Regions from separate parts of the Homo sapiens genome. Here all the other regions are linked to region 2. Evidence: promoter capture Hi-C in 16 types of primary human blood cells and fetal thymus (Javierre and others, 2016). All regions are on one chromosome and are shown on one strand. The core of a region is centred on a gene start or on the middle of the fragment in contact, and the rest is flanking DNA. Distances in the headings are between cores, read along the strand shown. Region 1 overlaps CILK1 (ciliogenesis associated kinase 1). Region 2 holds the start of LRRC1 (leucine rich repeat containing 1). Region 3 has its middle 39 kb from the start of FBXO9.

Evidence for each region. The method cuts DNA at HindIII sites, captures the fragments that hold promoters and counts their contacts. A CHiCAGO score of 5 or more calls a contact.
Region 1: a fragment that was not itself captured here is called in contact with the fragment with the promoter of LRRC1 in region 2 in 2 of 17 cell types (total B cells and activated CD4 T cells); the score reaches 6.5 in total B cells.
Region 3: a contact is called between a fragment that was not itself captured here and the fragment with the promoter of LRRC1 in region 2, in 1 of 17 cell types (total B cells). The highest score is 5.2, in total B cells.

What each region holds. Positions count from the first base shown.
Region 1 is chr6:53,052,620-53,057,012 of GRCh38, reverse strand. The region is part of intron 1 of CILK1 (ciliogenesis associated kinase 1); the gene reads left to right. Among named protein-coding and RNA genes, the nearest start is that of CILK1, 7.0 kb to the left of the region's middle. The HindIII fragment of the contact is 905 bases long and covers 1,308-2,212 here.
Region 2 is chr6:53,793,610-53,798,521 of GRCh38, reverse strand. It overlaps LRRC1 (leucine rich repeat containing 1), which reads right to left and starts at 3,517. Exons shown (of 14, transcript NM_018214.5): 1 at 3,107-3,517. The coding sequence starts at 3,265. LOC124901333 (a long non-coding RNA gene) reads left to right here and starts at 4,847. Exons shown (of 5, transcript XR_007059619.1): 1 at 4,847-4,912. RefSeq lists an enhancer at 2,733-3,445 and silencers at 3,412-3,651, 4,697-4,826. The HindIII fragment of the contact is 4,441 bases long and covers 2,202-4,912 here.
Region 3 is chr6:53,101,892-53,106,829 of GRCh38, reverse strand. No RefSeq gene overlaps it. Among named protein-coding and RNA genes, the nearest start is that of FBXO9, 39 kb to the right of the region's middle. The HindIII fragment of the contact is 6,462 bases long and covers 1-4,938 here.

The sequences.
Region 1 (4,393 bases), core at 511-3,010, 740 kb after region 2:
GTAAGAAAAATGTAAGATATACATGCCTTCATGTGATCTTAGCTGTTGAAAAGCAAGTTTTTTCCTAAATTAGTGTAAAAGTTTTTAGAAGGAGTCATAATTTTGGTACCCTAGTCCCAGTACAGTTGTCCAGTTTGCAAAGAAGTGGGGCGTGACGGGATGACAGTGAGGGTGGACGTGGTAGTATAGGAAAATCATCTATGGTCAGGATTGCCTTTTAAAGCTCCATAAGTTGTTCATTCATTAGTTAATTCATTGAACATGTCTTTATTGTGAGTCCGTACTTGTGCCAACTATGCCAGTTCTCTGGGAACTGAGTACTGGGAATACAGTTGTGAATATTGCAACGTTTCTGACCTCACAGAGCTTATATTCTAAGGTTAAACACAGCTTGTATGTAGCCCTGTAACCTAGGGGTAAGTGAGGGCTCTATGGAGAGTACTAAAGTGCTTCTGCTTATTTGGGGGATTTCCTCATCTTCAGGGCTTGACAAACTATGGCTTGTGTGCCAGTCCTTCCTGCTGCCTGTTTTTGTAAATAAATTTGTACTGGAACACAGCCATGCCCATGTATTTACATATTGTCTTTGACTGCTTTCATGCTACAATGGCAGAGTGGAGTTGTGACGGAGATGGAGAGCCTGCAAAGCCTATCCTGTTTACTGACCCTTCACAGAAAAAACGTGCTTATCCCTGCCCTATTTTATTTTTACATTAAGCCTTTACTTCCTTTAATTCATTTTGATTTTTTGTATACATGCTAGCAAAGCATCTTACACTGAGATCAGCTCCTTAGTCAAATGTGTTGTAATAGCATATAAATACTGATAACATGTGGCTGTCCTTGTAACTACCGTAAAAGATAATGCGTTAGAACCAGAAAGGTAAAGTATTATTGTGTAACGTCCAGCTACTTATTTGCCAGTATCATGAAAGTTACTATCTACATGAACTTGTGATATGCTCTTAGTCACTCCCCTATCTTCACTATCCCTTATCTTGCCCACCCCTGAAACACAGGCAAGCAGGACTATTGCCACCCTCGGCAGTTTTCATTAAGCTGGGGACTCTCGTTCTAGCTCATCTACAGTTTCACACATGGCAGGGTAAAGGTTTGTTTTTCTGGCTGTTTTTTTATTTTTTATTTTTTTTAACATTTCGCCTTTACTTCAGTTCTTTACAGTCCACCAAAGCCAACTATGTGTCCTAGTTTAAAAATCATCTGCAAGTGATTGAAGAACTTTTTTAAGGTTCAAGGCGTGAGCACCTTTTATATTGTAAGAGAAGCGACAGGGAGTTATGGAAGCTTCTCATGGGATTAAGGACCTAGTGCAGGACGAGTTCTTTTTTCAGAAGCTGGGATTGAAAGAGGAGAGGGATGGTAAAGGTATGAAGAAGTTTCTGGGGCACAGAAGAAGGCACATCATGTAACGGATTATCTTCTCTTGTTAACATCCAGTTGATGCAATAGCTGAATGCATCTTTAATTCACTCCTCTGTCAAGGTAAAGACAAAGCAAGATCCATGTAAAGAAGGTCCTTTTGGCTTTGTAACTGCTATTCCTTATGCAGAAAAAAAGCAGTAGTCCAAGAGGCAAAATGCTTAAAAGGTTTGCTTGCTAAAATGTACAGAGGCAGAAGAATTAGGTCCAGGAGAAAAACATAAACCCGGATATACTATTTCTAGTACCTTTTTAAAAGAAATTAACAGTATTCACTGACTTTTGTAAAGTTAGGACACATTCAAACCTAGAATACGAAGTCTAATTATAAACCTGTAAAGGTAAAATGGAACTCAGAATTACCATGAGAAGGGTCATCTAATGATTTTGCATATAATCCACTTTTCCTAGGAGGATAAATGAAAGTAACAGAATCTTTTCAATGTAAGATAATTAATGCAAAGGGAGACAAGCTCCTTCTAAGGAACTGAATGGTGTCAGTGGGCCTGGTAAACCACAACTCCCAGAGAACCCCAAGTTTGCTGTAACTTTTTGTCTCCTGTCTTAGAAAATGTGTAATGATGGCATTAATTCATTGATTAAGGTTTCAAAATAAAGAATGAACTACAATTTTCCCTGCCCCTCGCCTCCATTTTTTAGGCTGTGAATGAGCAAGGCACCTGATGTGAGCTGCTGGCCATGAGCAAATGTTCTTTGCCTCCACCGAGGATTGACGCTGAGGGGAGGGAATTGGGGCAAATCACAGGAAGCTTTTCCCCAATGTCACCTAGCCAGGAACATCATAACATTGACTTCAAAGGTTTGCTGGAACTCTTTGAAAGAGAGATAAAGCTGTCTTTCTTTGGTAGTTGAGTACAGCCTTACCCAAAGGCCAAAGGCCTGATCTGACCGCATGGAGGGGGACTTTCTGTGATCCTCTGAGACTCAGTCATCTTGGCATTGTTGTGGGAGGGCCCAGGCTGCCTGCCTGCCCCAGCTATTCTGTGGTATTCACTGTTCTTCCACTTCAGAACTTCAGAACTTTTAGTTGGGCCCAACAGTTTATCTTTGTTTTGTGTATGACAAAATAGAAGCACTGAGAATTTTGAGGTACTTAGCCAAGGTGGTACAGAAAATAATAGCAAAGACTAAAACTCACATTTGGGCCCTTCAAACAATCTTTGAGGACTTGCTACTGCAAGTGGAGTGAGAAGACAAAGATGAAGCAGTCTTGGAGAGTGTCGAGGCTGAAGCAGAGGGTACACCTGCAGGTCATTGCCACGGGGAAGGGGCTGGCAGTGAGGTGAGGACAAGGCACTATGGCATCAAGGGAGAGGACCATTCTCGGGTCTATATGTGTAGGTTGGGGCAGGAGGCTTGGAAGAGGTGACATGTGAGCTCGAAAGAGAAGGAATCGATGTTTAATGTTTACTGGGGCCTGGCTGAGGCACTGGGGCACTTGTGCATCTCTTGAAAGAAAGGTGTGTAGCATACAGGGTCCTTCGGTGGCACTGTCTTCTCCGCTAACCTTTGTTCATGTGATGCAAAAAGCAGAAACATTTATCCTTTTTTTTTTCTTAGACAAATGCTAGCTCAATTCCTGATACAGAGTCACAGAATCACACAGCTTTAGAGGAAGAAACCACCTTAGAGCAAGTCCCATGCCCTAATTCCACCAAAAGTAAACTCAAGGACCAAGAGATGCCCCGAGGCACAGCAGATCAGTGCTGAGTGGAAACTGGAACCAGTCCCTCACTTTGCCTCCACTGTGGGCATGTTGGTGCTGCCAATGGCTCCAGAGGATTCGCTGATATTTGATTGCAGAATGAAGACAATTAGAACATAGCCATATCATTCATTTTCATATTTGGGCTTTGAGATACAAAGTACTACTTCTGTTCCTGTCATTTTCAGATCCTCCAAAGATTTCATGATCTTTTGAAAGCTTTCCCTTAAGTTTGGTACAGTCAGCCTGGGTTCCTGTCTCATTTCTGCCACATTAGTCGTATAATCTAGACATGTAACTTGTGTCTCAGTTTCCTTCTCTGTAAAATAGGGATAATTGTAATAGTACCTGCCTGGTAGAATTATGAGGGTTAAATGTACTAATATATGCATAAGCACTTATAATAGTACTATGCACATACTAAGTACTAAAATTATCATGTTTTGGGCATATTTGATATATGAGGGTGCTAAGTGTAGATTCGTTGTAGTGAATGATTTATCCAAGTTAATTCTTGGAGTCAAAGCAGAATTTAGAAATACTGCGAGTTAGAAATACATGCTAATTCTCAAGGTAATGGACAGGCTGCTACATTCCATTCACTTCTCAAGCAGTGTTAACTATCTGTACCAGAAGCTGAATTTAAATGCTGTCAGGGCAGAGGAGGAAAATAAAAGACTCAAGGAAGCTGGGTGTGTGCTTGTCAAACAGTAAGAAATTGCTCTTCTCTTCTAAAAAAGAACAATTTTTCTTCTCTTCCAATTTTTCTTTAAGTATAAGGTTTTTTTTTTTTTCAGGCTTTTACTTTGTCACTTTTGTTATAGGCATAGGAACAGAGAAATATTTTTCATCCAGTAAAACAAGTGGCTATGAAGGCACACAAAAAAATGACAGCTAAAAAAAAAAAATGGCAAGTGGCAACAGGCAAAAAATGGGGACTGTGGTGAGCTGCAGAGCACACGCCCAGCCTGAAGAGGTACGGACATTTCTTCCACTTCTTATTACCGTGAAGGGCTAAGGACCCCAGGTGGTTAGACCTTCAGTGTTTCCAGAGAAGCTCCAAATAGGGATTTATATAGGAAATTCCCTATTTTTTATTTATTGATTTTTTTTTTTTTGAGACAGAATCTCACTCTGTCCCAGGGTGGAGTACAGTGGTGCGATCTCTGCTCACTGCAACCTCCGCCTCCTGGGTTCAAGCAATTCTCCTGCCTCAGCCTTCTGAGT
Region 2 (4,912 bases), core at 2,268-4,767:
CTGTAGTCCCAGCTACTCGAGAGGCTGAGGCAGGAGAATGGTGTGAACCCAGAAGGAGGAGCTTGCAGTGAGTGGAGATCGTGCCACTGCACTCCAGCCTAGGCAACAAGAGTGAGACTCCGTCTCAAAAAATAAATAAATAAAAAATAAACAAAGGTAAGCAAAAACACACAGACATCTCAAGAAGGTTACAGTGAGACTGCCTTTGTTAGCACAGAGCCAAAAAGGATCAAACTGCGGGTATGGGGGAGAAGTAGGTGGATGCAAAAAGGATGGTGAGGCTATCACCCAACTGCAACCAAACTGAAGATGAGGGATCTGATGCAAAAGGTTAAAAGATTAGGGAAGTAACCATCAAGTCCATAGCTTAGGAGTAGTTTAACCGTGGTGTCCTTTCCATCCCACACTAACTACATCTGGATTAAAATCATCTGCTTCCTCCCAAAGATGTGAATCATGCCTCCTTTAATCTCTATATTCCCAATAACTTGTAAATAATGGAGTCTCAATAAATGCTTGGCTAAGGCTAAGTTATAATGACATGAGTAAAACAGGAGAGACTAAATAAAGATTTGATGGGTGTGAGAAGCAGGATAGAAGATTCCTGCTAGGTGTCCAAAGCAATTGTATTTGGCTGACATCTGAATGAACAAGACCCACCAGCAACTGCATCTAACTCACTGGACAGCCCTGAGAAAGTCACCTCAATTCTGAATCTGAATTTGTAAAAGGAAGATATTGGCGCAAACCAGAAGTTGCAGGCCTTTCAGTGGAAAGAAGGTGGCTGTTATTACACTGAAACCTGGAGAGTGCATCTTTGCTGCCCTGGTAAGGGGTACCGGCTTCCCCTTAAGCTGTGCTTCCAAACAAATTATAGAGAGGAGAACATACAGCTGGTATGGCCACCAAAATAAGGACCTTTGAGGCTTGTGAACAAAACAGATGCGCTTGTGTGTGGCAGGTAAGGAGACAGGGGTTTGGAGCAGGAGCAGCAGAGACCAGTGGTAATAAGTTATACAGATCTCAGAGGTGAGACAACAGATAGCCCAAGGAAAGAATGGAAGGGATGGAACAGATATCTATGTTTGCAAGGTGGTTCTCATGTCTGGCATGTACACACCCAGGCACCAAGACACACAATAAGTCAGGGAGAAGTAGATTTTACACAACCTAAAAACTTTAATACTAATTTAACAGCTGTTAGAGCAATAATAATCCATTAGCAAGATCACCTGTAACCTTTGAAAAGCTTGTTTATTTACCATATTTACAGAGTGCCATCAGACTATATTTTGAGATTCTGACAAGTTTCCATTTAGGATCACAGAAAGACCTGACATTTCGGCTTGGCATGGGAAATTATGTAATTTCCCATGCCAAGCTGAATTCCCCAACATTACAGGAAAACCCACAAACCCTGCAGAAGGGAGTGAAAAGCCAATCCAGTCAAAGGAAATCTTCCAGTTCTACAAAAGAAAACAAAAAAACAAATACCACAAAGAGCAATGAATCATTTCTAGTGAATAACTTTTCACTCCATCTTCAATAATGTCATCCTGAAGCCCCTGAAAACTATTAAATTACATATTCTATATTCCTGGTGATATCACTGCCTAAAATTACACAACTTAAAGCAGTGAGGGAGCTGACGACTGGTAAGAAATCTTCAAGGACGTAAAAGGCCAGAAAAAAATCATGTGTTTGAAAATGCCTGCGAAATAATAAACGCCTGAGGGAACTTGATGGCTTTGCTGCTTCTAAGCTAAATAAAGCCTGGGGGGCTTTGCAAAGGTCCTAGTGAGGATAATCTCCATGATTACACAGAGCAAACATCCAATCAATTCCACATGAACCCAGGAAAGTTAATCCAAGAAGAACACCACCACTTAAAATATTGAGAAAAACACACAGTTCTTATTGTTTAAATGCTCCATCAGCGCTGGAGAACGTATCAGGTCATTCTAACAAGTCAGAACACTTGACTAGTGTTTCTGTGACAATGATTTGGCTTGTGTTAACTAAAGGGCAACAAGAAGTTTGCGTTCCAAAGCTCAGGCCTAAAACAGGTCCAATCCCCGACTGCCAGCAGTCTCCCTACTTCCTGCACACCTTTGGATTATTGCACACCGACTTCCTGCACACACCTGGGTTTGAGACACCTTCCCCGAGGGGTTACTCTAGCTAAGTTCCCGAGGCAAGCTTGAAAGAAGTTCGCTGTACCCCTACTCTCGGTCAAAGCACCATCAGCACATGTCGCTTGACAAGTTCGGCGGCAATGGAGTGATCAATTTACATAAACAACTCTGAAGAGATAACGCATCACTGCAAGGAGAGAAAGTCAGCAGGACGACTGTGCCCGCTCCGGGAAAGGCGGCTGCAAGGCTGGCCCGCGGGCAGAGCCTCCGCTGACGTTCACCGCAGCTCCCACCACGCAACAGGTCCACGTAGGCAAGGCCCGGGCGGCCGGCATCTGGGCACCTGCCCCTAGCGCTCCAGGCCCAGCTCTCCCCTGCGCCCATCTCGCGTCCACCCCCGCAGCCACCGCAGGCCAGCCGGCCAAGCCCACCCGCGATAAAGCACGGAGCACATTCCTCATTCCTCCCAAGATGCCGAGATAGTGCGGCCCGCTTGAGCGCTGCCCAGGTCACAAGGTCCTCCGGGACATGCCTTGACTAAAGGAGAGGCGCGCCCGGCCCTTGGTGGGGGAACGACCCCGGGGAGTGGAGGGGGGGAGGATGCAGTGCTCTGTAGCTTCCAGATGGAAACAGCCCGAATCACCCGGCTTCTCACCTGACCGGGCACAAGTGCCAGGTGTCAGTACCTAGCATGGATCTAAGTTACTTAACAGTCCAGAACGCTTCTCCAATAGCACGAGCCCCAGTGACTACGCGCAAAATATCCGGTCACTTTGAATAAAATGAAAAGGAACTTTTACTGGGAAAGGATGGAAGTAAAGAGACAGGGGGAGAAAGAAGCAGGTGAATGCATAAAAGAGGGAAGGTTCCTTCACGCCGGACCCGGAGATGGAAGAGGGGACGAGAGAGGATGGGAGCGGAAGGGACAGCAGACGAGCGGGCAGAGCGCTCAGGTGAGGCCGGACCCTTACCTCGGGCAGCTCGCGGAGCTGGTTGGCGTCCAGCAGCAGCTCCTCCAGGCTCCGGGCATAGCGGTAGATCTCCTCGGGGACGTAGACCAGCGAGCAGTGGCGCTTGTCGATGCTCTCCACATGACGGTTGCACCGCCACAGGGGGATGCAGTGGAACATCGCCGCCCCCGCCGCCGCCTAGCCGGGTCCCGAGCGGCGGAGACCCGGGCTCCGAGCCCGCTCTGGCCGGCGGCTCCGCTCAGTCCGCTGCCCTCTCCGCGCTCGTTGTTGGCTCTTGGGTTAGCTCGCTTCTCGCGCCGGGCTTCGCGGTCGGAAGTGCTTCAAGGAACCTGGAGCGGGAGCCCCTGCCCCGTCCCTGTACCCCCGCCCGCCAGCCGGTGCCTCCACTCCCACCCGCCAGTCGCCGTCGCCGCCCCCGCCGCCGCGCGGAGCTTCCTACTCGCAGCCGCCGCGCGGACTGAGCATGCGCGCCAGTGGGTGCGCGCCGAGGGCGTTTCCCGGCCCGAGGGATGCTCCGCTCCGGGTTTTCCCGGCGACCTGCATCCAGAGAGGGTCGACTGACCTGCGGGCCGGCTGCTGGCGGTCTGCTTACTCCGGCAAAGACGGGGGCGCATCGGGCCGTTTGAGGAAGGCAGACTGTGAAAGGACTTGGGACAAAGATGAGGCGGAGTAGAGGCGGCCTGAGCAGAGCAGAACAACTTTGATATTTAGTTTTATTTAACTCGCACTCCTCTCCTTGCTCCCCTTCCCCAAAACAACTTTCTCTTCCGGGGTCACACAGGACCGCCCCAAAGCGTACCTTGCGCGCCGGGGGCGCCAGGCGCTACTGGATTCGGTGTAGTTTTGAGGTGTTTGCACCACCCTCGCTGCTGCTTTCGTGGCTGCCCGTGTGCCCGCTGCTCACGGCTGCCCCAGAAGTGTGAGCTGGCCGCGCCCGGCCCTCTGGTCCTCGGGCACCGCCTGCAGGCTTTGTAACTTGGGAGCACATCTCTGGTGATCATGGTTTATGCAGTGAGTGATAGTAAATCCTCCTCCCTGTACCAGCAAAGGCATAGGAGTCTGAGAGTCTGCGAGATTCTCATAGATGTGGTTGCACCTGGCAAGGAGCCCAGCTGCAGAAATAAGCAGGCAAACGCGAGTTTCTGAGCCAGTTCCAGCCCGGCCCAGATGTTGGCCCCTGACAACTAGCTGTGGCTGGTGCGGAGGGAGGAGCGAGGGAAGAGGGGCAGATCGAGGCTGCCAGGTGAGCATCCTCCATACAGCTCCTGCTTTTCTGCTACAACCCCAGTCCCGTCCAGCCCGGATGACCGGGGAGGCTCACTATTGGGTTATAACAACCATTCCCTCGCCCCGACTCATTCCTGCGGACCACGGCCGGAATCCTGAACTGCCCCTCTTTGCCTGTAACTGTTTGCAACACAGTCCCCATCTCCGAATAACCAAATTTTCTCCTTTAATGAAGGGTTGCTAAAGTCAAGGTCAATCACAATGATGAATCATTTCCTTGGGGGCTTCTCTGATTCCCCACCCGGCCGCCCCTTCGTTCCACACTTTCCCTTTCAAGCATACTCAAACTCCAGGTTTCCACCTGCGGCCGCTGCCACGCTGGCTCTCCCACACTCACTCCCGCCCTCCAGCTGCTATAGCTAAAATCTGGAGCCACGGAGTTCACTTTTCTATAGAAGACAAAGCTGAGCATGCTCAGTGGCCAAGGCAAAGTTTGGTCGGAAACTAGTTTTTGCATTAGACTCTCCATGGGCTCCATAGACTCTCCTGTACCTTACGACTAGGCACAGGAGCGTTTCC
Region 3 (4,938 bases), core at 1,630-4,129, 690 kb after region 2:
GTGTTCAAACTCAGGGCTGGCTAGGCATAGTGGCTCATGCCTGTAATCCCAGCACTTTGGGAGGCTGAGGCAGGCAGATCACCTGAGGTCAGGAGTTCAAGACCAGCCTGGCCAATATGGTGAAACCGCATCTCTACTAAAAATACCAAAAAATTAGCGGGGCATGGTGCCCCTCTAGTCCCAGCTACTCAGGAGCTGAGGCAAGAGAATCCCTTCAACTCAGGAGGCCACGCCACTGCATTCCAGCCTGGGCGACAGGGTGAGACCCCATCTCCAAAAAAAACAAACAAAAACAACTAAAAACCCAGGGCTATCTAACCCCAAAGTCCGGATTCTGTCCACTGTTTTATGATACTTCCCTACTTCTCCTGTCAAATTCTGAGTTAGAGGAAGGCCTTACTCGTTCATGTCTGGGTAGAATATGATTCTTTCTTATTCAGGTCCCCAGGGACCTAAAGGAATCATGTTTAAGATTTAAAGGCTCCAAAGCTGAAAGATCCAAAGCTGAAAGATCTGTAGAGGCCTCAGTGTTGGTAGTTCTCACTTGCTCTGAATGGTCCTAGCATCTACTAGGTTTGAATTGGGGGCACCCAGGCAAAGAACTCCTCTGACACAGTGTTGGTAGAAGCCACAGAAGTCTTCCCTCCACTGCAATGGTTAACTATAATGATCTGATTGGGAATCAGCTCACATTTACTGAGTATCTGCTAGGGTCAGGATCTGTGCTAGGTTCACTGAGCTCATGTCTTCTGACCCAGTTTGTGGTCTTTGCACCACACCATGCAGTTGGCTCTTTATATCGCAGTGCTCAAAATACATCCACTCCTCTAGGAGATAGTGCAGAGGTACACACCCCTGTTGGGGATGAAGGAACAAGCAAAGAGAGGAGACTTTGCTTTTAGCTACACACTTCAAAGACATACAAACTATAAGGCAAAGAAAGATATCTCTCTGCAACTGTCCACATTAATTTGGGATTATAGGTCCAGGCCTGGAGGAAATTAGCTAGTCATTAAAGAAATCAGATGGGAATAAAGAACAGATCATGAGAAAAGTAGAAACTGTTATCTGATATGGATTCACTTTTTTAAGCTGTTGGGAATTCCTGGTACTAAAGCCTCTGTTAGCCAAATGCAGAAGTCAGTGAGCATTCCGAGGGACTTCAGAATCCAGTGCAGGGCAACAGATACATTGGACCCTTCTGCAAAGTGGTTTTCCTGGTAAAATCATGGAAATTAGTGAGGTCTAATCGTCACTCTACTCGTCACACACTAGGAAACACCGCTGGTATTTTCTTCTCTTCTATAGAGGAAGAAAAATAGCCAGAAAAGAATGGATAACCTTCATTCTGAGTTACATCTGACAAAAAGCCAAATGTAGGGCACTGGCCATGCCTTGAGTATAGTGACCATCCATCCCAGTTCGCTCAGGAGCCTCCCGATTTATGCTTGCTGTTCCAGTGCAATTACAAAAAAAACACTACTCTTTCCTCTAAAAAGTGTCCTGATTTTGACAATAAATTGACTATTTGATCACCCTACTTATAGAGCAGGTTTCAACTTACTGCTCCTTTGGCCTGAATACAATAAATTGGGCTGGATGTATTTCCAGGACTTGAGGAAAAGTTAGTCTGCACAGAAAAGCCATTTCAGCAAAAGAAGCCTATGCTGCTTATGCAATCTCCACACTATCCTTCTTCAATCTACCATACACACACATGCACACCATGTCCAGAATTGGCCAGCATTCTTAGGATAGTCTTGCACAGTTTTCTGAATCTCAATTCTGCTGCTAGATATTTACTGGATTCATAAGAAGAAGGTGCAAATATGGAAGCCTTGAGTGGATTTAACAGTGATCCCCCAAAAACTCTGCACTGAGCATTAGACCACAGCAAGAGGGGCTGTGGGCCTCTCAAGAGAGTCACAAATCAGGCCACTTGCTTGTCAAATGGGGACAGGTTGGCCCCTCTTCTGGATCTCAACAACCCCAACCTCAGATACTATCCCAGGATCCCTTTCCTATTCATTCCAAATCAGGATATTCAATTTCCTCATGCAGCCAGGACAAACTGGCCAGATTAAAAAAAAAAAAAAAAAAAAAAAACAATGGCCAAGAAAACTGAGATTTCTGGGCTACTTGCTGAAGAGTTGGCATGGCAGGAGTTAGGGCACTGTCACAAAAATGGCATTTCTGTTTGAATATACACCTTAAATCTTAGATCCTGTCACTTGCAGCTTTGAAAGTCAGTCAGAAAGATCTGGGGTGTTCCTATTTTCTTGTGAATGTGAAAATCAGCTCCCCCTAACACTATGAAGAATAAGAGCAAAAACAAAAAGGCTGGGACAAGAGTGTCACCTAGTGACAAAAGGATGCTTTTGTTAGTTTCTTCCAATAGAGCATCAAGAGCCCATGAAATGTGTCCAGTGCTTTATAGGGATCCTTTTATCTCATGTTCACAACAGAGAGGTGCTTTGGAATCAGAGATTTAAAAGAAATGGACCCTGTCCTCAACCACAGTTTGATGGAGGGCATTCGCATGTAAAAACAGAATTAAAATGGAATGTGATAACTGCTGGGATAGAGGCAATGTGGAATATTTTGGAGACAGACAAGGGACACCTTCTGGTGGAATCAGGAGAAGTATACATAGGTACTGAGCCTAACAATTAATTGGGTATTAGCTCCCTGCTCGGCTTACCTATCCCTATGCCAATTACACAAGGAGAGAAACTGTGAGGTTGAACTTGACACACACCATCCATTGACTCTCTTTCTTATGATGTACCCCTTGGTTGATGGCTGCGCTGTCCATTACAGTAGTCACTGGTCACATGTGGCTATGAGCACTTGGAACATGGCTAAGCCAGTAGAAGTGTGCTGGAAGTGTAAATTACACTCCAGATTCCAAAGATTTAGAATTTTTTAAAGTGTAAAAAAATCCCATTAGTAATTTTTATATTGAGTACGTGTCAAAATGATACTGTTTTGGATAGTACTGGATTAAAATAAATTATTAAAATTAACTTCACCTTTTTAATAAAAAAATGGCTCTAGAAACTTAAAAATTACATATGTGGTTCAAATTATATTTCTAGTGGGCAGCGCTGGTCTAAGCTCCAGTGGGAATTGTAACATATTGGAGTTTTGATGTTATTTCTTTAGAACTGGACTCTACTCCTGGCTCTGGCTATGAGAAAGCATTCTGGAGTTAGCCTTGCTCCACTACTCAGTAACCAGGATGAGCTTGACAAGTTTATTTAAACTCTCTTAACCTGAAATTTCTTATTTATAAAATAGGAACAATAATACCTGTGTGTTGTGAGCACAAATGAGATAATCCATATAAAAGAAGGCCTTCTGCCCCATACTTAACACATAATCTCTCAAAGTTTTTAAACAACTTTATTATTACTTGCATATAATTTCTTTCTTTCTTTCTTTTGAAAACAGGGTTTACTCTGTCACCCAGGCTAGAGTGCAGTGGCGTGATCTTGGCTCGCTGCAGCCTCCACTTCTCGGGCTTCTGAATAGCTGGGACTCCAGGCACGTACCACCATGCCTGGCCAATTTTGTTTTTATTTTTTCTAGAGATGAGGTCTATGTTGCCCAGGTTGAACATATAAGTTCTTGATTCTCTGCATTTTTAAATTAACAAATAATGGTACATGTTTGTGGAGTACAATGTGATGTTTTGATACATGTACACATTGCAAAATGAGCAAATCAGACTAATTAACGTATCTATCACCTCATATACTTATCCTTTCTTTGTGGTGAGAACATTTAAAATATGCTCTTTTGGCCATTTAAACATATGCATTGTTAATAACTACAGTGACCATGTTATGCCACAGATCACTAGAATGTATTCCTCCTAGCTGAAACTTTACATACCCTTGAACTAATATCTCTGCTTTCCCCATCCACCCTTCCCTCCAGCCCCTGGTAACCACCACTCTACTCTCTTCTATCAGTTTGACTTTTTTAGATTTTACAAATAAGTAAGATCATGCAGTAACATCTAAGTTCTTAATAAACATTATTAAGACTAGAATTTACTGAGTGCTTACAACTGCCAGGCCCTCTGCATGAATACACGCCTTTAATTTGTGAGGGTCCTGGTTATACCACCTGAGGCAAACAACTTCACCCTTCATGAGCCCCCATTTCCTCACCTCCACATGGGGATAGTTGGTCAGTAAGTGACTTCTAGGGAAACTTCCAGCTTTGACATTCTATGTGTCATCTGACATTTAAACATATTTCACTATCACATTAAGTATTATTCAAAGGCTCTGACTTCCAATGTTTCCTCATAGCCTTTTGTTCTTGTTTCTTCTTCCATGTCTTTGAAGAAATAGAATTTTGTTTTTCAGATTTCTTCTACTACCTGCATTTTTTTATTTCCATCATGTCCCCTTTCTCTGCTTATTTAAAAAGTCTGATTCTCTGTCACTCATTTAGACTTTGTCTTCAAATACTTGGTGTTCCTTGCTTGTCCATTGATAGCCAAGAAGGAGCCACTACGATGTTAACTAGAAACTACGTGGGTAGGTGGTACTTGCTGACTGAGAGGCGTGGGAGAGGACCTATTCTGTTGATTCCTAAATGTCAGTATCCGTAGGTCTTTTTTTTGTGGGAAGGGGTCTTTTCCTAGAGGGGAAGCCTCCACTTTCCTGCCTGATGGTGTGAGCCTGACAACTTGAGTTCTGGGAGTTGGCTGGGGATACTTCCCGCAGGGTCTTGCTGTTTCCATGTGGTACCTTACCTTCCATGGGAGGCCAGTTGAGTTGATTTGCACTTTTTAGCTTCCCCTGCTTCTGGCTGAGGTCTCAGATCTCTCTGGAACAGCAACAGTTATAATACATATAATGGCTGCTATTTACTGAGCACCAACTCAGTCAGGCATTGTCCTATGCAATTAACGTGGAGTGT